Linked DNA regions of Homo sapiens: region 1 is linked to region 2. The links are contacts of gene promoters, found by promoter capture Hi-C in human tissues and cell types (Jung and others, 2019). All regions are on one chromosome and are shown on one strand. The core of a region is centred on a gene start or on the middle of the fragment in contact, and the rest is flanking DNA. Distances in the headings are between cores, read along the strand shown. Region 1 overlaps TCTA (T cell leukemia translocation altered). Region 2 holds the start of MST1 (macrophage stimulating 1).

Evidence for each region. Contacts are between HindIII fragments. The study calls those that stand out against the background at their distance.
Region 1: a fragment that was not itself captured here is called in contact with the fragment with the promoter of MST1 in region 2 in 1 of the 25 tissues and cell types used here (dorsolateral prefrontal cortex).

What each region holds. Positions count from the first base shown.
Region 1 is chr3:49,414,053-49,418,694 of GRCh38, reverse strand. It overlaps TCTA (T cell leukemia translocation altered), which reads right to left. Exons shown (of 3, transcript NM_022171.3): 3 at 2,219-3,875. The coding sequence ends at 3,833. AMT (aminomethyltransferase) reads left to right here. Exons shown (of 9, transcript NM_000481.4): 8 at 722-877; 9 at 977-1,917. The coding sequence ends at 1,155. Among named protein-coding and RNA genes, the nearest start is that of TCTA, 4.0 kb to the right of the region's middle. RefSeq lists enhancers at 319-1,037, 2,464-2,673. The HindIII fragment of the contact is 4,017 bases long and covers 1-3,730 here.
Region 2 is chr3:49,688,022-49,693,590 of GRCh38, reverse strand. MST1 (macrophage stimulating 1) reads left to right here and starts at 4,117. Exons shown (of 18, transcript NM_020998.4): 1 at 4,117-4,993. The coding sequence starts at 4,900. It overlaps RNF123 (ring finger protein 123), which reads right to left and starts at 4,034. Exons shown (of 39, transcript NM_022064.5): 1 at 3,985-4,034; 2 at 2,344-2,461; 3 at 2,082-2,166. The coding sequence starts at 2,425. RefSeq lists an enhancer at 4,204-4,763. The HindIII fragment of the contact is 11,098 bases long and covers 1-5,569 here.

The DNA.
Region 1 (4,642 bases), core at 473-2,972, 270 kb after region 2:
TCTCTACTAAAAATACAAAAAAAAAATTAGCTGGGCATTGTGGCGGGCGCCTGTAGTCCCAGCTACTCGGGAGGCTGAGGCAGGAGAATGGCATGAACCTGGGCGGCGGAGTTTGCAGTGAGCCGAGATTGCGCCACTGCACCTCCAGCCAGGGCGATAGAGCGAGACCCCGTCTCAAAAAAAAAAAAAAAAAAAAAAAAGAAACTGAAGATGCTGCCGGGCATGGTGGCTCACACCTGTAATCCCAGCACTTTGGGAGGCCAAGGTGGGTGGATCATGAGGTCAGGAATTCGAGAATAGCCTGGCCAACATGGTGAGACCCCGTCTCTACTGAAAATATAAAAATTAGCCAGGCGTGGTGGCGGGTGCCTGTTATCCCAGCTACTCGGGAGACTGAGGCAGGTAAATTGCTTGAACCTGGGAGGCAGAGTTTGCAGTGAGCTGAGATCGTGCCACTGCATTCTAGGCCTGGGCGACAGAGTGACTCCATCTCAAAAAAAAAAAAAAGAAACTGAAGACGCTCGGCAGGTGGGCAGCATGGCCTCCAGGGGATAGGAGGTGGTTGGTTGGCTGACGGCAGTGAAGGGAGGAATAGAGCCTGGAGTAGCCCAAGCAAAGGGGCCTTGATGCTAGATAGTGTGTTACTTGAGGACCTCATAAGGACCTCCTGTGGCCAGGGCTTCTATGGGCTGTGGCTTATGTCTCATGTGTCATTCTCCAGGGAAGCGCCGCCGAGCTGCTATGGACTTCCCTGGAGCCAAGGTCATTGTTCCCCAGCTGAAGGGCAGGGTGCAGCGGAGGCGTGTGGGGTTGATGTGTGAGGGGGCCCCCATGCGGGCACACAGTCCCATCCTGAACATGGAGGGTACCAAGATTGGTAGGTGGACCAGGGAAGCTGGGAAACCCTTGTCTCTTCCCAGGAGGGTGGGGGCACTGGCAGGGTGGTGCTGATGCGTGGCTTATGCTTGCTTGACAGGTACTGTGACTAGTGGCTGCCCCTCCCCCTCTCTGAAGAAGAATGTGGCGATGGGTTATGTGCCCTGCGAGTACAGTCGTCCAGGGACAATGCTGCTGGTAGAGGTGCGGCGGAAGCAGCAGATGGCTGTAGTCAGCAAGATGCCCTTTGTGCCCACAAACTACTATACCCTCAAGTGAAGCTGGCTCAGGGTGGGGCTGTCCCTTCCAGGAGTTTTGCCCCTACAAGGGGTTAGTCAAGAAGCTGAGGCAGAACTCACTGGGGGTGGGCAGTTAAGGTGGAGGCTGATTCTAATTGTCTGGTTGAGGGGCCACACCACCTATTCCCCCCACCTAACTCATGCCATTCCAGCTTCCTTCAGGACCCTGCTTCTGAGTGACGGACCAGCTCACACAATGTCTTGTTTCAGTCCATGATCCCACTGACCTACTCTTGCCTGCTGGAGGGTAATGAGAAGCTTTGGTTCTGCCATCTCTCCCACTCTGCCAGGTGCTGGCTGTGGAGCAAAGGCTCACCTTTGTGGAGAGGATAAAACCTGCCCAACCTACCTCACCATGGTTTTTCACATTGCAAAGGGTAATAACATGGGCAGTGCGGACTTAGGCTACCCCCTCCAGTTTGCTTTCCGTAAATGCAAATTGTCCTTACTGCAAGTCAGGAATGATTGCTGACTCACAGTAGGGCTGCTATGCCTGTGTGTAAACTTGGGGATGGCTGAGGGAACATAGACTCACTCTTCCACATTCCCAAGTTGGTCTAGTGTGCTGCCCAGTAGCAAACCATGGCAGACTCACCACCTATTCTGAGTTCCAGGGCTGCTGTAGGGCAGGGTGGGCTTCCTCCCAGACTTGCCTTACCCTGGGCTGATCTTTGCCCCTGGTATGCATTAATGGACTCCACTGAATCCTGAAAAAAAAATTAAACTTCCTTCTTACTTGCCAGTCTCTAGCTTCATTGTTCTCTGTTCACAGGGTTCCTGAAATGCCAACCCAATGCCTGCCTTCCTGGCCTCCAAGACAAGCTTGGAATAGGTTCTCCTTGAAAGGGGCCAGTCTATAAAAATGGAGATATTGCCCCTGTTGGGCACCCCATCCCTGCTCCTCCAGGGAGCTGCATCACCTCTCCCCTCCCTGCAAGTTATTGCATCTGGGTCCCAAGGGGCAACAGCTTCCAGGATGTTCCCTCTCTCACTGCCCCTGTGCATGCACACCCTTGTTCTGTCTGAATAACCACAACAACCGATGCACTTCCGTGTTTAATAAGCCACATCCTCAGTTGAGCCTGGGGTGAAATGTGAGATCCTGACTCTGTGCAGTAGTATTAGTGGGTGGGCCAGGGGCTGTGAATAACATCATCCTCAGTACAGCTGCAATTCCAGGGCCCCTCTACCACAAAGATGGCTTAAGCAAAGGCAGCCAGATGGAAGTATGATATCCAACAGGAAGGAAGTAGGCAGGGGTCACTAAAGTGGCTGGTGGCCCAGCAGATGGAAACAGAAGTATGGCCCCGAGGGAAGGAGGCAGGTCCAGGGCTACAGTGCTTTCAGGTACTGGTGTTTCTATAGGGGCATTTGCCACCCACATCTTTGGAAACTCCCCTGGCCTATTGTGACATGGCAGGGCTGCCTGGTTCTTGAAGGTAGAGAAAATGCTAGTGGGGAGGAGCTGAGCCTGTGACGTGCATTTGTACCAGGTCCAGATGGGAAATGATGAGGCTGCAGGCTATGATGGGGCCACTGTGCACTAAATGCTTGGTACCATCCTATGAGGGGACAAGGTGCAGACCCACATTCCCATAGGCACTTAAGCAGTGGTGGATAGGAGGCTACCCCAGGGGTTCAGCTGTCCTTCAGGTAATCAGCTTACCCCCAAGAAGGACTGAGAGGAATATGAGTAGGACAGTTGGCAGATGACAATTTCCTTTGCCTGGCTCACGGGAGAAGTCTGGTTGGGCCAGGTATGTGGGTGTTTGGTGCCTCCATCTGGATAGTGCCAGCAGGTACACCACCCTGCCTTATACCTGAATGGCCAGCTAAATAACCATAGAGCTTAAGGTCTGGCTCAGGTCAGGATTCCCTGGCTCCTTGCCAACAAAGCAAAACCAGAGATTCAGAAAACTCAGGGCCTAGGAGAAAACAGACCTGCCTTACAAACCCCAGAGCTGGTCAACCTCAGGCTTCCTCTCAGGAAAAAAATTTTTTTTTTGAGATGGGTCTTGCTCTGTTGCCCAGGCTGGAGTACAACGGCGCAATCTTGGCTCACTGCAACCTCTGCCTCCCAGGTTCAAGCAAATCTCCTGCTTCAGCCTCCTGAGTAGCTGGGATTACTGGTGTGTGCCACCACACCCGGCTAATTTTTGTATTTTTAGTAGAGATGGGGTTTTCACCATGTTGGTCAGGCTGGTCTCGAACTCCTGACCTCGTGATCTGCCTGCCTCAGCCTCCCAAAGTGTTGGGATTACAGGCGTGAGCCACCATGCCTGGCCAACTCAGGAAAAATTTTTATGGGGTCACATCTTGGGGATGGAAGAGGGACAGGAAAAGAAACCTAAGACAAAAGAACTGATGGTCTTCCCAACCCAGAGGCTTCCTGAGTTATCACCCCTGAGAGAGGAAGAACACAATCTCTCTCCTTAAGGCACCCAGATAAGAGTACAGGCAAACTCTTCACTTGCCCAGTGCCTGGGTGAGGGAGCAGGCTTAAGAGGCAGAAGAGGCCCAGCCCTGTAGGCACTGGGTACTCCCTGCTACCAACCCTGAACCCCCGGCAGTTGTCCCTGAGGTCTGGGGAGTAGCAGAACCCAGTGTAGAAGCCAGCAGACCCAGTGATGCCCTTGGAGACCCTCTGCTGCCTTCCCTTATTCTCTGTGGGTTTTGAGAGGTTCGTTTGCTGCCATTTCCCTGAAAGTGATGGAGAGAGAGAAGAGAGAGTGGTTATTCCATGGGCAGAACAGTTGCTGAAATTGGCTCTCCCAAGCTCCTTCTTGGGGGCTGAGCTAGGCTCAGTAAGGTCACATAACAATCTAGACCTCTCTGCTGGTCTCCCACAGCCCACCCTGGGCCCAGCACCTTCTCCCTGCAGACTCATTCTTCTTCCTGGTTCTCCATGTTAGTACGGCATTGCCATCCTTCTCTAGTTTTTTTATTCTTTTTATTTATTACTATTGTTATTACTTTTCTTTTTTTGAGACGGAGTTTCACTCTTGTTGCCCAGGTTGGGGTGCAATGGCAAGATCTCAGCTCACTGCAGCCTCCACCTCCCGGGTTCAAGCAATTTTCCTGCCTCAGCCTCCCAAGTAGCTGGGATTACAGGCGCCCGCCACCACACCCAGCTAGTTTTTGTATTTTTAGTGAAGACGGGGTTTCGCCATGTTGGCCAGGCTGGTCTCAAACTCCTGGCCTCAGGTGATCTACCCTCCTCAGTCTCCCAAAGTGCTAGGAACAGGCGTGAGCCACCATGCCCGGCCTGTTATTTTTTTTGAGACAGAGTCTCACTCTGATGCCCAGTCTGGAGTGCAGTGGCGTGATCTGGGCTCACTGCAACCTCTGCCTCCTGGGTTCAAGTGATTCTCATGCCTCAGCCTCCCGAGTAGCTGGGATTACAGGCGTATGCCACCATGCCCAGCTAATTTTTTCTATTTTTAGTAAAGACGGGGTTTCCCTATGTT
Region 2 (5,569 bases), core at 2,868-5,367:
GAGGCTAGGAGTTCGAGACCAGCCTGGCCAACATGGCGAAACCCCATCTCTACTAAAAATACCAAAATTAACTGGGTGTGGTGGTTTGTGCCTGTAATCCCAGCTACTCGGGAGGCTGAGGCAGGAGAATTACTAGAACTTGGGAGGCAGAGGTTGCAGTGAGCCAAGATCATGCCACTGCACTCCAGGCTGGGCAACAAGAGCAAAACTCCATCTCAAAAAAAAAAAAAAAAAAAAAAAAAAGGCCAGGCACACTGGCTCACGCCTGTAATCCCAGCACTTTGGGAGGCCGAGGTGGGCGGATCACGAGCTCAGGAGATCAAGACCATCCTGGCTAACACGGTGAAACCCCGTCTCTACTAAAAATGCAAAAAATTAGCTGGGCATGGTGGCGGGCACCTGCAGTCCCAGCTACTTGGGAGGCTGAGGCAGAAGAATGGCATGAACCTGGGAGGCGGAGCTTGCAGTGAGCTGAGATTGTGCCCCTGCACTCCAGCCTGGGCAACAGAGCAAGACTCCGTCTCAAAAAAAAAAATTTTTCAAAAAAAAAAAAACTAAACTAAAAATTGAGCTACCATATGATCCAGCAACCCCACTGCTGGGTATATACCTGAAAGAAGGGAAATCAGTATATCAAAGAGATATCTGCATTCCCATGTTTGTTGCAGCACTGTTCACAATAGCCAAGATTTGGAAGCAATCTAAGTGTCCATCAACAGATGAATAAATAAAGAAAACATGGTACATATACACAACGGAGTACTATTCGGCCATAAAAAAGAATGAGATCCTGTAATATGCAACAACATGGATGGAACTGGAGGTCATTATGTTAAATGAAATAAGCCAGGCAGAAAAAGACAAACATTGCATGTTATCACTTATTTGTGACAGCTAAAAATTAAAACAATTGAACTCATAGAGGCAAAGTACTGGATGGTTACCAGAGGCTTGGAAGGGTAGTATAGGGCTTGTGGGGAGATGGGGATGGCTAATGCGTACAAAAAAATTGAATTAATGAGACCTATCTGGTAGCAGAACAGAGTGACTATAGTAAATAATAATTGTACATTTAAAAATAACTAAAAGAGTATAACTAGATTGTTTATAAGACAAAAGATAAATGCTTGAGGGGATGGATACCCCATTTACCATGATGTGATTATTACGCATTGCATGCCTGTATCAAAGTATCTCATGTACCCTATAAATATATATACCTACTACATACCCACAAAAATTAAAAATTAAAAATGTAACACAAAGAAAGAAACAGAAAAGAATCACATTTGAATAGTCATGTTAAAATAACAAGATAGCAGGTGCTTTTCCTTCTTTTTTTAGAGACAGGGTCTTGCTCTGTCACCCAGGCTACAGTGCAGTGGCATGCAGAGGCCAACTCACTGCAGCCTCAACCTCCTAGGCTCAAGTGATCCTCCCACATCAGCCTCCCTAACAGCTGGGACTACAGGTGCACACCACCATGCCCAGGTAATTTCTGTATTTTATTGTAGAGATGGGGTCTTGCCATGTTGCTCAGGCTGGTCTTGAACTCCTGGACTCAAGCAATCTACCCACCTTGGCCTCCCAAAGTGCTGGGATTACAGGTGTGAACCACTGTGCCTGGCCCTCTAAGTTTCTGCTAAAATGTACTTGTAACTTTTATACTGACTACACTTAAAAGTATTAAACTTGTAAAGAAAAGGCCCTGGAGGAGTTTGTTCTTTACAAGGTCAGTCAGAAGCTACAAGGGGCCAGGCTGGGGCCAAGGTGAGGGCAGGTACATGCAGGGGCAGATGCTGGGTATGGAGTAGGTGCCAGGTGCTAGCTGGGCATGAATGTGCACCCGCTCCCTGACCTCTGCTCCCTGACTCTCAGAAGGAACTAGCACTGCCTGGAGACAGGAAGAAGCAGAGTACGGAAGGCAGACTCTCTGGCCAGAGATCTCGCAGCCAGGAGCACAGTGAGAACAGAGCCTAAGCCTATCTGTCCAGAGCCCAGGCTCCCTTTCCCTACAACTGCAGCCTCCTTATTCTGGTCTGGCCCAGCAGAGTGAGGAGGGGCCACCCACCCAGCCATACCTGCTGGTGGCTGCTGGGGGTGCATGTTCAGAAGAGGAAAAGATGCGGTTCAGGTAGTCATTCAGCAGCTTCTCCTGCACAATGCCTGAGCCACAAGTCAGAAGGGAGAAAAGGGCCACATGATCAGTGCAGCTCCTGGCCCCTGCTGGCCCCAGAGACTTCTGGTCCTAGGCCAGCCACAGGTGCAGCAAGGCCTGAGGCCTTTGTCCCTTCCTTCTCCTCCCAACAAGAGGAGCCTCCTTCCTTCCCTGCCAGCTCTTACCTGTGACCCTGGATTTCTCAGCATCTGAGGTCAGCCTATAGCTCTTGCGGGAGAAAGACATGCCGGCCCCCTTGGATGCCATCCTTCATCTCTCATGGGCAGCCAGTGGTCCTGGGGGCTGAGCCAGACACAGAGCCTGTCTACTCAGGGCCAGCCAGGGGCCCCCACACCTGACCTCAGTCCTGCCATGGCAGGAAGGCTTGGGAGCAGGTGAGGCCAGGGGCATGCACACTAACACATAGGGCAGGGGAATGCAGGGGCTCCCAGCTTCCTACACAGGGAGGGTAGCCAGGGTCTAGGCCCATGTAACAGGGACCACTTCTTGTTCTCCAGTGTCCCTGTGCCCAGCACAGGGCTGGGCAGAGAGCAGGTACTAGATATATTTTTGCCGAACCATAACAAAATGTCTCAGCTCTGTGGAAATCAGACCAAAATGTCCAAAGTGAGGTGTCCTAGGGGCAGAGCCCCTGTATCCATCTCAGTTGTAAGCCATACTGAGTCCAGCTCACAACCAGAAGCGACAATCCTACACATTCCCCCAAGTGCAGACCACCACTGGTCTGGTCATCTCTAGCCATAAGTCCCACTTACTCCCCACAAGGCTGGAGCCTCTTTCCTCAGCCCTGGGTTCCTCCCTTCTTTTATCCATGGTCCTGATAGTTTCACCATTCCCACTCACACATGTGGCCTCCCACCTCATCCAAGCACCACCCTTGCCCAGCCCTCATGGCAAACTCCATTGGTCCTCCTAGTGCATCTATCCCTCACATCATGTTGCTGCTGCAGCTGCTCCAGAACCTGCACTGAGTCCCTGGTGCTGGCCTCACTGATGTGTAGCGGTGCTGTCCAACACAGCAGCCGTCATCCACATGAGGTTACTTAAATTTAAAGTTTTAAAAATTAACAATTCGATTTCTCAGTTGCCTTAGCCACATTTCAAGAGTTCAATGACCACATGTGGCTAATGGTTACTCTGTTGGACAGCACAAAGGTAGAACGTTCCCACCATCATATAAAGTTCTATTAGACAGCGCAGGTCTAGAGTTTCGCTCTGCAGCACTGCCTTAGCCAGCACTCCCTACTCTGCAGTTCAGTCTCTTATCTCACCCCAAACAGACCCTCTACTCCCGCCACAAACCCTTGTGGGTCTGCACCACGCCTGCTCCTCGGGAAGGTGATTTTCCCGACCTCGGGCCCTCGGTGGGCGTCCATGATCGGTGCCCCTTCACTACCAGAGTAGTTGAAGATCTGATTAAACTCAGTCATTCATTTGATGAGCAGACCTTCCAGACACCCGGAGTGGGCTCCGGGAGTCAGTTGCTGAGGACCCAGGTGAGAGGCGGACCTTGTCCCCGCCCGGGGACTCCCTGTCACGGCTATCCCGTCCAACCCCGCCGGGGTATCCGGACTCAGAACTGAACCTACTCCGTCTGGGAGCCCAAGGACGGCGAGGGCGGCGCATGGCTCCCCCAAGTCGCCCCCGCCTGGCCCCAAGCTCCACAGGACCTGCCAGACCAGCTTCCGCTCGGAGTTTCGCACCCAGATCCCTGCGCTGCAGGTGCCCTCGCACTGGACTAGCCCGGACCGCGAAGGGAATAGCCGGAACCCGCCAGGCTCAGAGCCCTGCCGCCCCTCACTCACCCGGAGCCTCGGCCGCAGCGACCCGGCTCACAACATCCGCCCAACCTCTTGGCTACGGCGTCCGTTCAGGGCCAAATCACGCGCACGCTTGCGCGCTGAGCCTCCAGCCGCGCACGCGCACTGGCCCGCGCCCAGCCTCCGCTAGGGGACCCCCTCCATGGCTTCCCACCGGGTTGTTCCAGGCCTCAGCTTCGCCGAAAGGCCTCACCACCTCCGACCTCCGCCTGCTCTGGGGATGCTCCCAGCCCTGCTGCGGCAGAACGCGACATGCTAACCGGAATCCCTAGGCCGCCTGTCTCCTACCCATACTTAGAGGCCCCGCTCAGACGGTCCTTAAAACGTCTGAAAGGCCGTTCCTGCCAGAGTCCCTGCTACCTGTTACCTCCACCCCTATTTAGTCCTAGTGGACAGCCTCGCTCACCTTCCCTGGGATGACACTTCTGGCGGCTGAGATGAGCGAGCCTCTCTGGGCTCTGCCGCCGGGTGTGGGCTGACCTGCCTACAGCTGGGGCCTGATAAGGCAGCAGCAAAAGGGTGGAGGGGAGGCAGTGTTGAAGCTGGGGCAAGTAATTTTCCCCAATTTACAGGGAAAAACCGAAATTCAGAAAAGTTTAATGTCACCCAGGGGCTGGAGCCCAGACCTCTGGCAGCTCTCACTTTCACAATGCCCTTGGGCTGACTAGGCTGCAGAGGGGTTTCACCCCAACCCCAGGGCACCTCAAGTGTCCCCACCAAACCTTCCTAACACCTGTCCACTAAGCTGTACTAGGCCCTTGCAACTGACCTATGGGACCTGAGGCCTGGCCCCTCATGGCTCCTGTCACCAGGTCTCAGGTCAGGGTCCAGCAGGCCCTGAGCTGACGTGTGGAGCCAGAGCCACCCAATCCCGTAGGGACAGGTTTCACAACTTCCCGGATGGGGCTGTGGTGGGTCACAGTGCAGCCTCCAGCCAGAAGGATGGGGTGGCTCCCACTCCTGCTGCTTCTGACTCAATGCTTAGGGGTCCCTGGTAAGTGCCCCCAACCCTGATCCCCATCTGCCTTCAGGAGGGGGTTGGCCCCATTCTCCTATTCTAGGATGAGAAAAAAGTCGGGGAGCCAGAGGCTCAGTGGGCATGGGGCAGTGACCTTGCCCTCTTGAGCACAGCTGGGAAGCCCTAGGAACACATAGACATTGCCCACTTAGGCCTCTATTAGCACGTCTGCTCTAGCACTGAAGCAGTGTCAGGACCACACAGATGCACGCACACAGCAGGCAGTGACCCCTCCTGAGCCTGATCTACCCCTCTAACCTAGCATATGCCTTTGTGCAGGTGAGAGCCCAGATTTGGAGTCTGAATGCCTAGCCAGGGCCCCTGGCTGGGTAATGTGATGGCTCTGAGCCTTAGCATTCTCATTTGAGAGATGAGGTGGGGCAAGCTTCATCACCCACTGCTCTCACAGAGCGTATGTGTTAGATCTGAGCCCGGTGCCTGGGCCACTAAACAGAGGCACCGGTGATAACTACCAAGTCTGGGCCTGCTTCCCAGGGGAAATTTTTTTCACAAGTATCTGTGCAGGGGGCTAGACTGGCCCTTGAAAGTGCA